Linked DNA regions of Homo sapiens: regions 1, 2, 3 and 5 are each linked to region 4. Evidence: promoter capture Hi-C in 16 types of primary human blood cells and fetal thymus (Javierre and others, 2016). All regions are on one chromosome and are shown on one strand. The core of a region is centred on a gene start or on the middle of the fragment in contact, and the rest is flanking DNA. Distances in the headings are between cores, read along the strand shown. Region 1 overlaps LINC01605 (long intergenic non-protein coding RNA 1605). Region 2 has its middle 280 kb from the start of LINC01605. Region 3 has its middle 240 kb from the start of LINC01605. Region 4 holds the start of ZNF703 (zinc finger protein 703). Region 5 has its middle 260 kb from the start of LINC01605.

Region 1 (2,700 bases), core at 111-2,610, 280 kb after region 4:
GGACTAATATAGAAGTGAAGGAAGTTTATGAAAAAATATAGAAATGTTTGTGATAAGAAGAATACAAAATTGTAGAGTAGCATTTTTCCAAGCATGTTTTTTGGAACACTACTCCCATGTCAAATATATTTGGAAATACTTGGTATCACACGCCCCTCTCAAGACTTCATGATGCTCATCAGCACTGAAGGTTCTGAGAAGTGTTGTGGCTTAACCTATTGCTTCTTGAACTTGTTTCACTCTGGAGTCCTTTATCCAACCAACATCTATTACTATCTTTGAACATTGGTGTTCTGCGGGAGAATGTTTTGGGAAATGATGACACATAGAATGGTTATAATTAGGTTAAAATTCCACTAGAATATAGAGAAATAGCTGGAAGAAAAATATAACAAAATTCAAGTAGAGACCATGGGTAGCAATGACGTAAAAAGATTATTTAATAAATCTTTCTTTTTTCATGCATCTGCCAGAAATTATTTGATATGCATAGATTATTTTATTAAATAATTTTATAAAGGTCTTGGTCTAAATAAGTTTGTATTTTTATTCAGTTTATAACATATAAGTTTCAGAATTTGCGCTTTCTGCCTAATGGATAAAATATCCATATAACCCAGTAGGATATTTGATAAGAGTCTGATGGCCTGTTAATACTATGTAATAAATAATAGTATTTATTCTACCATGATGACAATTTCAGAGTGTGAATTTGGACTTGGGAACAGCCTACTTCATGACAACCAAAAAGAAAGAGTCTTTTAAGAACTAGTAAACAACTAATAGTTAAAGGTGTGCCAGGCACTATACAGATCACTTTATACACATTAACTTATTTAATCCTCTCAGCAACTGCATGAGGTAGGTAGGTAGTATGATCACTGTCATTTTACAGATGAGTAAACTTAGCCACAGGGAGGTTAGGTGACATGCTCAGTTCCAAGTCCTCCATCTCTAGAGACCAGATTCTGATGAGTACCCAGTGCTGCCTCCTACTTAGGGAGCCAGTGATTCCACCACATCAGCAGGCAGGATTTCACAGCTGCTGATTTAACCTAGATCCCAAACCATTCTTGCCTGTGAGAGTGACAGAGCCCTTTCCTCTGGGGTTGGTAAGCTGGAACCACACAGGCCCCTCATGTCCTCTGGCCATATCCTCTAGTAGGTGAGAAGGTAAAGAGGGTGCAGACTAGAGGAGGAGGGGGTATGAGTCCCACTTCTGGCCTCCAAGGGCCCAAGAGGTAGCCTTGCTTCTCTAGCTGTTTCTGTGGACTCTGGTGAGGAATCCTGTGTATTTCTTCCAGAACATCTTCTTTTTTCTTTTTTTTTAAATGTTTCTTTATACACCTTTTAGTTTTAAATTTTTCTTTAAGAGGTTGTTATAAGAGGCCATTGTAGGGTGTCTTTCACAATGATGTTTTTGGACCAGATTATACTTTAGATGGGCTGTGATGCTTACCTGGTAATATCAAGTAAGTTTAGAAACCTGCTTATACACTTGAGGTACCCAGAGGCAGAGGATGAGCTAAAGGGCCACTCAAGGTCACTTCCATCCTCTGTACTCTGGGATGTTTTGGATATCAGGTGTCGGAAGAATGTGGCTAGCCAAATTACCATCTAGAAATGGGCTACTCCTGGGTGTGAGAGACAGAGGCAGGAAGGCTAAGGAAACAGGAGCAAAGAAGCTGCTCTTCATAGGTTTTATTTTATTTTGTTTTTTCTTTTTTAAAATTAGTATATATTTATGGGGTACAACTGTAACTTTGCTACATTGATATTGTGTTAGTCTGTTCTTGTGCTGCTATAAAGAAATACCTGAGGCTGGGTAATTTACACAGAAAAGAGGTTTATTTGGCTCACAGTTCTGCAGGCTGTACAGGAAGCAGGGCACCAGCATCTGCTTGACTTCCAGGGAAGCCTCAGGATGCTTTTACTCATGGCAGAAGGTGAAGGGGGAGTGGACGTGTCACATGGTGAGTCAGGGAGCAAGAGAGAGGGGAGGGAGGTCCGAGCCTCTCTTAAACAACCGGCACCCCTGTGAACTCATTAATCATCCATTACCACTCATTACCATGGGGAGGACACCAAGCCATTCATGGGGAATCTGCCCCCGAGAACCAAACACCTCCCACTAGGCCCACCTCCTGCTGAGCCCACTCTTCTTCAATGCAACATTGGAGGTCACATTTCACATGAGATTTGGAGGGGACACACATCCAAACCATAACACGTATGTTGCATTGTGGTAAAGTCAGGGCCTTCAGTGCCTCCATCACTGGAGCAACGCACATTGTACCCACCAAGCAATCTCCCATCATCCACCATCATAGGTTTTAAAGCCAAGGATTACAAAGAGATAAATCTGGGTTTGGCATGTCCATTCCTTGCTCTTTTATCCTCAAGTGACTTGGAGAGGACCAGTTGGCACCATTCTTGGAGGTCAAGACAGCCTACCATTGGCTTGAAGCCTACAGTTAAATCAATTCATCCTCTCTCCTAGACTTTCCCACTCTGGACTAATTAATTCTGGGCCCTGCAGTTGTTTCATAGGCCCTCCTCTCCAACTCTTTGTATCACTTCTCCATTCACATTTCCAAGTTAGCTGTTTGGCTCCAAAGAGGGTGCAGTGCCGAGTTGGGGTCAACTCTCGAATCTCATGGGATGGTTCCTTGCTGGGTCTCTGTTGTGTTGCTTGCCCAT
Region 2 (2,700 bases), core at 38-2,537, 370 kb after region 4:
AAAGCAGGAAAGTGGATCTGGTTTGGTCCTATGGCAATTTACAGGCCTTTGGCCTCCCTAGTTAATTTTCACTAGGACAGACATTATTTTGCCTGCTGGGAGGAGAAGTAGCTACTCACAAAAGCTGCCTGTGCTGTGCCATTAGGAAAGGGACTCAGAAGGAGGGCATCTTACATGTGCAAAAACTGGAGGAGTAACAAGCAAAGAGGGAGGAGGTGGGGATATAGTTGAACTTCATGTTAGCAGAGTTCAATACATGGAAACCATAGGTCCTCTCTTGTCTCTAACTGCCCCCGCCATATAGATAAAATTAAGGGGAGTTATTCATAGGGCAGAAGGAGGGTTTCCTCCCTTTTGATGACCCCTAGAAATATCCTGCTTCCCAAATAGGTATACTGAATAACTTACACTCGACTCAAGCTGTATTAACAACTTATAAGAGAAGTTGGGAAGGCAAAAAGATGCTCTTGGAATGTGTTGTTTTATGGCTATAGAATGATGAATTTTACTCCCAACTACCAAAAATGGAGGGATTTGCTTAGAGGGTTGATGGTGATAACAGCAGCATGTTTTAACTTATTGGCAGGTTGGGTCTTCTTTAAAATTTTGTCTGAGGCCATGGGAAAGATCTCTGGCTAGGAGATCTTCCGTAGCCCCTCCCATAGGAAGGGCTATGGAAGAGTCCCTATGGGCTTAATGTGTGGGATAAGAGGACCCAGCCAAACAAGCCGAGAGAGGCAAGTTTTTCCTTTCATTCAGACAGTAGCTGTAGCTTCTGGTTGGTGTGAAAAAGTCTGCCACAACTTTTGGTCGTCAGTTTTAATCTTGTTTGGAGCATCAAGGTATCTCATCTTCTGTATCAGTTATCTGTTGCTCTATATGACATTACCCAAAGTGTAGTGGTTACTATCTTGCAGTTTATGTGGGACAGGAATTTGGGAACAGCTTATATATGGGTGATTCTGACTCAGCATCTTTCATGAGGTTGCATTTAAGACATTGGCTAAGTTGACATCCTCTGAAGCTTGAGCAGGGCTAGAGAAGTTCTTCCCAAGATGACTCACTTCCTAACATGGCCTTGGTTCCTCTCTGGCTATTGGCAGGCTATTGCCACATGGACCTCTGAAAAAGTTTGCTTGAGTTTTCTTACCATGTGGCAGCTGATTTCCTCAAAAGCAAGTGATCCAAGATATAGCCAGGAGAAAGCAATAATGCTCCTTTTGACCTGGGAGTCATATACCATCACTTTTGCCATATTCTATTTGATAGAAGTGAATCACTATGTCTAGCTCACTCTCAAGGAAAGGAGAATTAATCTTGACTTCTGGAAGGGATATGTACAAAGAATTAGCCAAGATACTTTGAATCTCCATTTCTTCTTATTTCTATTCCTAATTATTCATAGAAAAATCATAGTGCTGAACTTTTAATTTCCATTTTCATACCATGAATTATCAAAATTTGATGTTGAAATGGAACTAGATGAAATACAAATAAATGTGATTACAGACATTTATTAATTATGCAAAACCAAATGATATAAAGCTTTGTTTTGACTACTTCCCCTTTATGATTCTTCTTCTTGGGTTATACTGGATAAGGCCCCTCTTCTACCTTGTGGATTTTCCTTGTAGACTTTTTCCATTGCCCCAGGGACCTTGAATTTGCTTTCAAATTTATGGTCATTCATTTAGAAAATATTTAGGAAATTTGCACGGCCAGTTCAATGAGGTTGTTCAATGGAAGTTTTTGAATCGCAAATAATGGGGGAAGTGTAGTTAAAGTAGCACCTCCTCCTCCTTCTTTGCACTGGCCAGTCCCTGCTCTAAATGCAGAGCGGATCAAGTCAGTTGAGATGCTGCTAAACTTTACCAGCCAGCTGGCCAGTGTCTCATTGAGCATCAATATTGGGACTGGTTGTTTACTGGATGGTGAGAAAAGAAAAGAACTTTTATCTGAGGAATGGGAGTCCTTTTAATTAGCAGGCCCAGAGAGATATTAAAATGAGACAGCAATCACATCCTACTTCCCCCTTGAGCTACGTATTCTTCTCTTGAAACTGCTTGCTATTACTACAGGCTATAAATTAACCTCATAATGCCACACCAGACACTATCAGCCACAACCTATTGCTTAACAATGTCTAGCCAATCACTAATCAATGTTATTTCTGTAAACCAGTGAGAATTCCTGACGAACAACTTTGTATCAATCCACTCCTTGTCCCCTGTTTTGCCTTTAAAAATCCACTTGTAACTGCTGCTAATCAAAGTGTATATTCAGGACAACTTGATTCTGTGCTCCCGAGTTGCAATTTCAAGTTTGGCCCAAATACCTTTCTACTTACACTAATGTGGCCTCAGATTCTTCCTTTTAGGTCAACAATAGCTATGAATGTGTTTTGGTTGTTTAATAGAGGGAGTTTCAAGGCAAGTTGTCATAGTCCGGGCATTATCCATACAAAAACTGGAGACTCTTAGCAGGCCACAGATTAAGGATGACATTCAAGTACGCGAAGCTGGCTCTACCTGAAGCCTTCCCAAGTCCCCAGTCAGGTTCACTTATCCAATCATCCATCCACTTCACACACATTTATTAACCCTGTACTGTGGGTCAGGCATTATGCCAAAGCAAGAGATGACAAATAGTGAAACTGCCTTTGCAAAGATGATAACAGTGAGAACATTATGACAGTGAAGG
Region 3 (2,700 bases), core at 198-2,697, 330 kb after region 4:
TGGTTGTGTGGGTGGATGATAAACCCAGTTCTGCCTGCTCCAGTGGGTGTGCATTTCCTCAGGTGCAAAGTGAGAGGGCTGGGCTGGGTATTCCCTGAAAGGGTGCATAAGAAACACCTGAGGGTTTTTTCAAACTTTATATTTTCTTTTTTAAATTTCAACTTTATTTTATTTATTTTATTTGATTTTTTACTTTAAGTTCTAGGATATATGCACTGAACTTGCAAGTTTGTTACATAGGTATGTATGTGCTATGGTGGTTTGCTGTACCTATCAACCCATCATCTGGACTTTAAGCACTGCATGCATTAGGTATTTGTCCTAATGCTTTCCCTCCCCTTTCCCCTCACCCCTCGACAGGCCCTACTGTGTGTTGTTCCCCTCCCTGTGTCCATGTGTTCTCATTGTTCAACTCCCATTTATGAGTGAGAACATGCAGTGTTTGGTTTCCTGTTCCTAGGTTAGTTTGCTGAGGATGATGGTTTCCAGCTTCATCCATGTCCCTGCAAAGGACATGAACTCATTCTTTTCCATTCTTATTTTAAATACAGAGGATATATATGCAGATGTGTTACATGGGAATATTGTGTGATGCTGAGGTTGAGAGTACAGATTCTGTCACCCAGGTAGTAAGCACAGGACCCGAGAGGTAGTTTTTAAACTCACCCTCCCACCCTCTGGCATTCCCCAGTGTCTATTGTTCCCACCTTGATGTCCATGTATGCTCAGTGTTCAGCTCCCACTTACAAGTGAAAAAGTATGATATTTGGTTTTCTGTTCCTGTGTTAATTTGCTTAAGATTATGGCCTCCAGCTCCATCCATGTTGCTACAAAGGACATGATTTCATTCTTTTTATGGCTGCATAGTATTCCAGGTGTATATGTATCACATTTTCTTTATCCAATCTACCATTGATAGGCACCCGGGTTGATTCCATGTTTTTGCTATTGTGAATAGCTCAGCAATAAACACATGAGTGCATGTGTCTTTTTGGTTGAATGACCTATTTTCTTTTGAGTATATACCCAGTAATGGAATTGCTGGGTCAAATGATAGCTTTGTTTTACATTCTTTGAAAAATCTCTGGACTTCTTTCCACAGTGGCTGGACAGATTTACATTCTCACCAGCAATGTATAAGCATTCTCTTTTCTCCACAGCCTCACCAACATCTGTTATTTTCTGACTTTTTAGTAATAGCCCTTATGACTGATGTGAGATGGTGTCTCATTTTGGTTTTGATTTGCATTTCTCTGATGATTAGTGATGATGAGCATTTTTTTCATATGTTTCTTGGCCACTTGTATTATATTATTTTCTTCTGGAATTTATATATTTGGGAATCAAACCTCTTCCCCTGCATTTTTTTCCCCCACCACATTGAGAGTTTTAGGGCTAAAGGATGTCCAAGTTCTCTTGATGCGCTGATGACCCGTGAGCACATGACTTTGCTTAAGCTACCAAAGCATTTCCTGCCCTGCAGGACTAAGAGGGACATGCCTGCTTGGAGAGTTTCAGCCCTGATTTCCTGGAGTGGGGAGTTGCCCAAAATGGCTTTTGGTGTGACTTCCTCTTTCAGATTTCTTCTGGAGCTGCAGGCTCTTTTCTGCAAGATGTGTCTAACCACAGTGACATGTGCCTTGTGAGTAGTGTGAGGGGATTATTCATCAACATGATGGACCAATGTATTGAAATAGGGATGATTTAGCAGTGGGAAAATCCACCAAATGCCATCTTGCCTTCTCTCTTCTGGACTCCTAATTGGGCTGTGGGCTGGGAAAATTGACCCAGTATTCTCGTGAATCTCTCACCCGCCCTGTAGCCTGTCTCCCCAAGGGTCTGATGCATCTGGGGTGTTGCTGCAGGTGGCTCTGTTGGGTGCTTCAGTCTCAGAGCCCAGTTGCCAGTGGATGGGGATCTTTAGAGGGTCTGCAGGTTCAAAAAAGTCCTTTCTTCTCACAGGTGGGCAACTTTATGGGGCTTATTTAAGGTGCATGTCTGGACCCCCATTCCTGGCTAACTCTCCCTTCCCCAGCCCCTGAGCTGTGTCTGCTGGGGTCAGTCCTGCCAGGAAGATTCCCCAGGCTTTTCCCAGGCCTCCTGTCACTCCTCTGTCCCCAACCTGGGTGGAGAAGAGTCGGTTAGGCCAGAGGCAGAAGGTGGGGGCATAAAAAGACTGATCTGGAATAAACTGAAAAGTTTACTCTGTGCAGCACTGAAATAAAAAAGCTCATTCAGAAAGTTAATGATTTATTTTATAGTTTCATTATCAGGGTCACATTACTCAATAGCATTTCAAACATGTCATTTGTACAAACTATGGTAATTAAAATTTATAACATACTTCATCAGCAGCATATGAATCTTTTAGCCGGCACTCTGCTGTCATATAAACAGTGTAATTTCAGCTGCAATTCACCCTTTATTGGCTCTCATTTGTGATTTAACAGCCATCAATGACTGTGCTATAAAGAATAAATTAACCATCCGTAAACCTTACGATGACAGGGACAGTCAAATAGACTTAAACGCCTTCCGCCCAGCGCTGGGAGCCGACCTAGAGCAGGTGAAGGCCACGTATGCATCAGGCCCACTGCTGAAAGGACTTTCCTCTCTCCTGCTGCTGCCTCTCAGTGGGATGGCTCCCGGCTGGACCCGAGGTCCCTCTAGCTGCCACTAGCAGGAGCATCAGCTTTTCTG
Region 4 (2,700 bases), core at 93-2,592:
GGAGGGAGAAGGAGTGAGACTCAGAGGCCTGCGGGGCGAGCGGGGGCGCCCGGGGAGCTGGGCGGCGGCGCCACGGGGCGGGGCGGGCCTGGGGAGAGGGTCTGCGAGCGAGGGCCGGGCCGGGCGCGGCAGCTGGCGGAACTGCGCCCACACTGCCGCTGGGTCCCGGGGTGCGCCGCAGGCCCTGCGGAAGGAGTTCACCCAGGACCCCTGCGGGAGAAGGTGACGTCTCTGGAGTCGGGGCTGTGACTCGCCACTTCCCTCTAATGTCCCCCTCCTCCAGGCCCAGGAAAAAACTTATTCCTTTAGTTTGGGGGAACTTCGCTTGGGACGGGTTTCTGGCGATGGCGCCGCGGGGTAGGAGAGGGGAGCGCGGATTCTAAAGGAGGGGCTGCAGTTGGCGCTCTCTCCGTAGCCCCTCCCTCCCGGGGAGGGCACCCAGGGAAGAGGCAGGAAGAAAGATCCGGGATCGGGAGCGCCAGGGCGCCGTGCGCCCTCACCGGATGGGACAGAGGCGAAGTGGGACCCGGGCAGCCAGGGCTTCAAAGAAAACAGCCCGGCGTGGGGGGCGGGGAAGACCCAGCAGAGACCAACTCCTGGCTGGAAACTGGGGATCAGAGGAAAAGTAAAGGACCCAGAGGGGACTCCAGGAGCAAATCCAATCCGAGAGAAAACACGGAGCTCCGAAGGGCGAGCGTGGAAGGAGACCCTTCCACGGGGAAGCCTGGGGAAGCCCTGGTGGGCTCTGATCCCTCGGTTTTCTTCCCCTCCTCACTCAGCCCGCCAGCGTGACCAGACTTGGGTGTCGCACCGAGCCCCGGGGCGCTGGGAGCTGGGTCAGGGTCCCGGTCGCGGTGGGAGGAATGGGGCCGGCGCCCGGGGGCAGCGGCCGGGGACTGACCTCAATGGGGCTGACGGGAGTGGAGGACAGCGGCTGCAGGTACTCCGGGTGCAGGAGGTGACCGGTGTGAGCGCTCAGCATCTTCAGGACCCTGATCGGGAGCCGGTTCGCCTGGCGCAGGGGGTCCGCCGGTGGCAAGAGGGACACCGCTGCCGGCACCGCCGGCCTCTTCCCGCCGCCGCCGCTGCCGCTGCCGCTGCTTTCGGGTGTCCTTGGGTTAGATCCAGCGGGCGAATCGCTCATTTGGAGGAGGCAGCGCCGCTGGGGGGGCGGGGAGGGCGGGGGAGCACCGGGGAGGCGAGCTCCCGGGGCGGGTGGGCTCGCTCCGCAGCGTCGATCGCGGTGCAGCGGGAGCTGCGCCTCCTCGCCGCCTCCCCTCCTCCACCGACGCCTCCGCCGCCGCCGCCACCGCCGCTGGCCCCGGCTAGCAACACAAAAACCTTCGCCTTCCTCGAGCCGCACGTCAAATAGCCGCGATCGGCAGCCACACTTCAAAGGGATCGCCGCGCCCGCCCAATCGCAGCTCTCGCCGGGACCCCGGGGCGGGGAGAGCGGCGGGCTGAGGCCGGCTCCATCGGTGGGCGGGGAGAGCCTTAAAGGGGCCGCGCCGCGCGCCGCCGCTGCCTCGGTCTCGGCCGCTCCCGGGATTCCTCCCCTCCCCCCGACTGGGCCTTCCTCGCCCTGGGGTCCCCCGCCTGGGACGGGACTTCTCCGGGACCCTGAGCTCTGCGCCCCGTCCTCCTTTCCGGCCGCTCTCTCTCCTCTCTCCCTTCTCACCACTGGGTGGGTGGGGGGTGATGCTGGCGGGGGCTGTAACCCCGCCCGCCGTGTGTGTCCGAGGTGGGGTGGGGTGGGGTGGGGTGGGGTGGGAGGGATCGCACGGCGCGGGCTCTGGGACGCTGGAGTTCAAGCCTCTCCCAGAGGCCGCCTGGGGGCAGGCCTCGCCTCGGGAGCCCGGGTCCTTCTCCAGAGCTGCTCCGGCTCTCCTCGGCCCCGCTCTCCTTCCCCTACTTGGCCTCCCCTTGGTGTGTTCACTTGGAAGCGCCCGAGCCTCGGAGGCACCCACTGTTCTCGGGACGCGGCGTAGGCAGCTCCAACTACTTTGAGCCCGTCTTGTCTGAAGCCTGCAAGTTTGTCTCCCTTCTGGAGTGACATGGTCGGCGACCAAGCGCGGGACCCCAGGCTGTGCGCGCTGTGCCTGCGCCCTGCGTTAGAGGCTCGGTGTCTGGTGTGTTACAGGCTTCTTACCGTGTCCTGCTGAGGGGCGTGAAGTTCCTCACTGTACCGCGCCCAGCTGCTACGAGGAGAGACCGAGATCACGGGCGAGGCGGGTGTCCCTGGAGGGGGATCTCTCTCTAAGCGCTGCTCGGCAACACAACCCCTCCGCCCCCCCATCCTTCTCACTCCGGGGGAAAAAGCACTTGCTTTCCCCAGGCAAATTTCGGGATAAAAACTTTTAATTAAAAATAACAATACCCTTCCCGACTCCCTGCGCCTTTCTGATACAGTGTGCATTGCTAGCTTCGCCCTGGGCAGAGATTTTACGTAGTCATAGTCCTGACATCCAAGTTCCGGATCCGCCGCTTTTCCGGAGGCGAAGTTGGTCCTTTGGGTGCCGAACTCTGGGGAGCCCACTTCTCCGTGCGCTCGGCGGCCAGTGGAGGCGCGCTGGTGTCACTGCCTGGCTCCCAGCACCACTTTTCCAGTCCCGATCCATCACTCCGGTTGTCAGGGCTGTCACTCGGGGCGTATTGCTCTAGGATGGCAGGTTCCCGACTCTGCCGCGCTGACCGACGCCT
Region 5 (2,700 bases), core at 113-2,612, 360 kb after region 4:
ACCTTGTTGGGATAGTTAAAAGGAAAGGGTTTGTGTTTCTGGAGACCCCTTCAACTCTTCTAATATCTATGAAGTACAGAAGATATTCATATTCTCACTGTATAAATAAGGAAGCTGATTCGGAGGGCAGATCTAAATAAGAGAAACTAAGGCAAGGAGAAATTGTGGGTGTTCAGGGTCACAGAGTTAACTGCAGCCCTGGAACCTGTGAAGTTTCTGTAGATGTCAGCATGCCTGATAGGCATCAAAGAAGCAAAGTCGCTATGGATGAAACAGATTTGGTGAGTATCCCATGAGAACCATGATTCCTGTGCAATGTATTATTAGGAAGCTTGGATGTTTCTGCAGAAGACAGTAGTTCTGATTGACATTTCCTTGGGTTGCAGTGGTGAGATGTGATGGGGTAAGGACAGCTCTTGGCACTGACCACACCCACCCCTGGCAGCCTCCACATCACTTACTAGAAAGTGAGTTGCCAAGTGTCCTGGCTTGAATTAGGAGTCAAGAAGATGCAACCAACCCATGCACAGAAAACTCAGCCGCCAGATCAGCTCTTTCTAGTAATGCAACTAGACAGCCCCTACAAACCTGGGATTTATACTGGTAAATCTTGGTCTCATGAGGGCCCAGCTCAATTTGTGCAGAAATTCCACCAATGGTGGAGAGTTGATTTAGTGTCAGAAAAGGGTGTTTGAAACAAGTGCATTTTCCTTTACGAGTCTTTTAACATCAGGAGAGAAATACAGCTGATTGCAATTGATTTGTGTACGTGGCTGTTTGTGTGAAGTGTCACAGCATGTTTGATGGGAACATAGAAACAAAGAAGGAGAAAGGCCAGAAATTGCTCTTCTGGAAGGTGCGAAGCAGAGAGTACAAGAAAATGCATCTTACAGAATAGGGCTTGGCCCTCCAGGTTACTGTGCATTGACTCTGGACTCAGTCCCTTAATCGCTGTGTGACTCAGTCCCTTAATCGCTGTGTGACTAACAGCAAGTTTCTTGAGGTCTCTAAGCCTTGGTTTCAACATCAGTAAAAGGGGAATAATGAGTGTCTGCCTTATGAGCTGTAGGGAAGATTAAATCAGTGCATCTGAAAGGCTGATTTTCTTCTACTTCAACTTCCTCCCTAAAAGCTACTTCCAGGAAAAGGCCTTATAAAAGTCTATCTTACTTAACATAGCAGTCTAATGATAGTTTGGAGAGTGTCCCATATGGGAGAGCCCACAAAAGAGACTTAAAATGTTCCTTTTCTGTACAGAGTTCTTTATTGTTATTTATTTATTTATTTATTTTGAGACGGAGTTTCACTCCTGTTGCCCAGGCTGGAGTGCAATGGCTCCATCCTGGGTCACTGCAACCTCTGCCTCCTGGGTTCAAGCAATTCTCCTGCCTCAACCTCCCAAGTAGTTGGGATTACAGGCACCCGCCACCACACCCAGCTAACTTTGTATTTTTAGTAGAGATGGGGTTTTGCCATGTTGGTCAGGCTGGTCTTGAACTCCTGACCTCAGGTGACCTGCCCGTCTTGGCCGTTCAGAGTGCTGGGATTACAGGCTTCAGCCACCGTGCGAGTTCTTTATTATTTAAAAGACACTTGCAACCATCTTACCACATTTAACTACCTCAAAGTGTCCCATGAGTTCTATAAGTCAGGTGTTATTTATTCCTCTTCTAAAATGAAACATGGACATAGAAAAGTAAATTTCCAAAATTCATATTTTTGTTCCTTAAACATAGTTTGAGGGATACATAAATGACTTATTAAGAATCACACAGTTAATGAAGTAAGAACCTGGGATGAGATTTTGTGTTGTCTGACTCCAAGTGTAGTGTATTTAATAAGAGGAAAGAACTTTAAGGTACAGAAAAGACTAATTGCAGAATTTCAACATAAGCGAACACATCAAAGAGTGGAGGGTTTTTCCAGGGTCTCTGCTCTAACATTCTGTAGAGACCCAGCTGTCCATGGAAAGGCTCACCCCTGCCAAGATGTATTATACCAACGGCAAGACTTTCAACCTTCTCTTGGTCTTAATCTTTCTGAGTGTGTCTCCCTTCATTGTCTCTTCTAATAAATAAATTAGAAAATATGTCTAGAAAACAGTTATGGAAAATATGTCTAGAAAATAATATTAGAAAATAATAATAGACATACTACAAAATATAATAGAAATGTCTTGAAAATAATATTAGAAAATGACAATGAACATTTTTATCTATTGTGATGTAATAAGTTACCCCAAAACTTAGTGACTTAAAACAAATCACATTTATTATCTCATAGTTTCTGTGAGTCAGGAACCTGGCCATCACTTAGCCGGGCTCTCTGCTTCTGGGTTGGCCGTGAGGCTGTAGTCAAGGTGATGGCTGGGCCTGCAGTCATCTCCAAGCTTAACTGGGGGTGGATTGACTTCCAAGCTCATCAAGAGGTTATTGGCAGGGTTCAGTCCCTGTGGACCTCAGTTTCTCAGTGGCTGCAGGCTGGAGGCTGCCCTCCTTGCTATGTGAGCTTCTCAGTAGGGCAGCTCACCACATGGTGGCTTGCTTCATCAAAGAGAGAGAGAGAGAGAGAGAGCAAGTGAATATGAGACAGAACTCACAGCCTTTTGTAATCTAATCTCTGAAGAGACAACCCATCACTTTTGCTGTATTCTGTTCATTAGAAGTGAGTCACTAGATCCATATCACACTCAAGGGGGAG

Evidence for each region. Contacts are between HindIII fragments. The CHiCAGO score rates a contact against its expected background, and 5 or more counts as called.
Region 1: a contact is called between a fragment that was not itself captured here and the fragment with the promoter of ZNF703 in region 4, in 7 of 17 cell types (monocytes, naive B cells, total B cells and 4 more). The highest score is 9.5, in monocytes.
Region 2: a fragment that was not itself captured here is called in contact with the fragment with the promoter of ZNF703 in region 4 in 4 of 17 cell types (M2 macrophages, M1 macrophages, M0 macrophages and 1 more); the score reaches 16.6 in M2 macrophages.
Region 3: a fragment that was not itself captured here is called in contact with the fragment with the promoter of ZNF703 in region 4 in 5 of 17 cell types (monocytes, M0 macrophages, M2 macrophages and 2 more); the score reaches 10.1 in monocytes.
Region 5: a fragment that was not itself captured here is called in contact with the fragment with the promoter of ZNF703 in region 4 in 4 of 17 cell types (M1 macrophages, M2 macrophages, M0 macrophages and 1 more); the score reaches 9.4 in M1 macrophages.

What each region holds. Positions count from the first base shown.
Region 1 is chr8:37,413,105-37,415,804 of GRCh38, reverse strand. The region is part of intron 4 of LINC01605 (long intergenic non-protein coding RNA 1605); the gene reads left to right. Among named protein-coding and RNA genes, the nearest start is that of LINC01605, 190 kb to the left of the region's middle. The HindIII fragment of the contact is 7,799 bases long and covers 1-2,700 here.
Region 2 is chr8:37,319,652-37,322,351 of GRCh38, reverse strand. No RefSeq gene overlaps it. Among named protein-coding and RNA genes, the nearest start is that of LINC01605, 280 kb to the left of the region's middle. The HindIII fragment of the contact is 521 bases long and covers 1,027-1,547 here.
Region 3 is chr8:37,360,395-37,363,094 of GRCh38, reverse strand. No RefSeq gene overlaps it. Among named protein-coding and RNA genes, the nearest start is that of LINC01605, 240 kb to the left of the region's middle. The HindIII fragment of the contact is 5,070 bases long and covers 1-2,700 here.
Region 4 is chr8:37,694,424-37,697,123 of GRCh38, reverse strand. It overlaps ZNF703 (zinc finger protein 703), which reads right to left and starts at 1,342. Exons shown (of 2, transcript NM_025069.3): 1 at 902-1,342. The coding sequence starts at 1,144. It overlaps LOC124901932 (a long non-coding RNA gene), which reads right to left. Exons shown (of 2, transcript XR_007060887.1): 2 at 2,341-2,700. LOC124901933 (a long non-coding RNA gene) reads left to right here and starts at 1,443. Exons shown (of 2, transcript XR_007060888.1): 1 at 1,443-1,684; 2 at 2,141-2,379. RefSeq lists enhancers at 411-953, 954-1,497 and silencers at 1,232-1,331, 1,382-1,731, 2,519-2,700. The HindIII fragment of the contact is 16,475 bases long and covers 1-2,700 here.
Region 5 is chr8:37,336,806-37,339,505 of GRCh38, reverse strand. No RefSeq gene overlaps it. Among named protein-coding and RNA genes, the nearest start is that of LINC01605, 260 kb to the left of the region's middle. The HindIII fragment of the contact is 2,058 bases long and covers 334-2,391 here.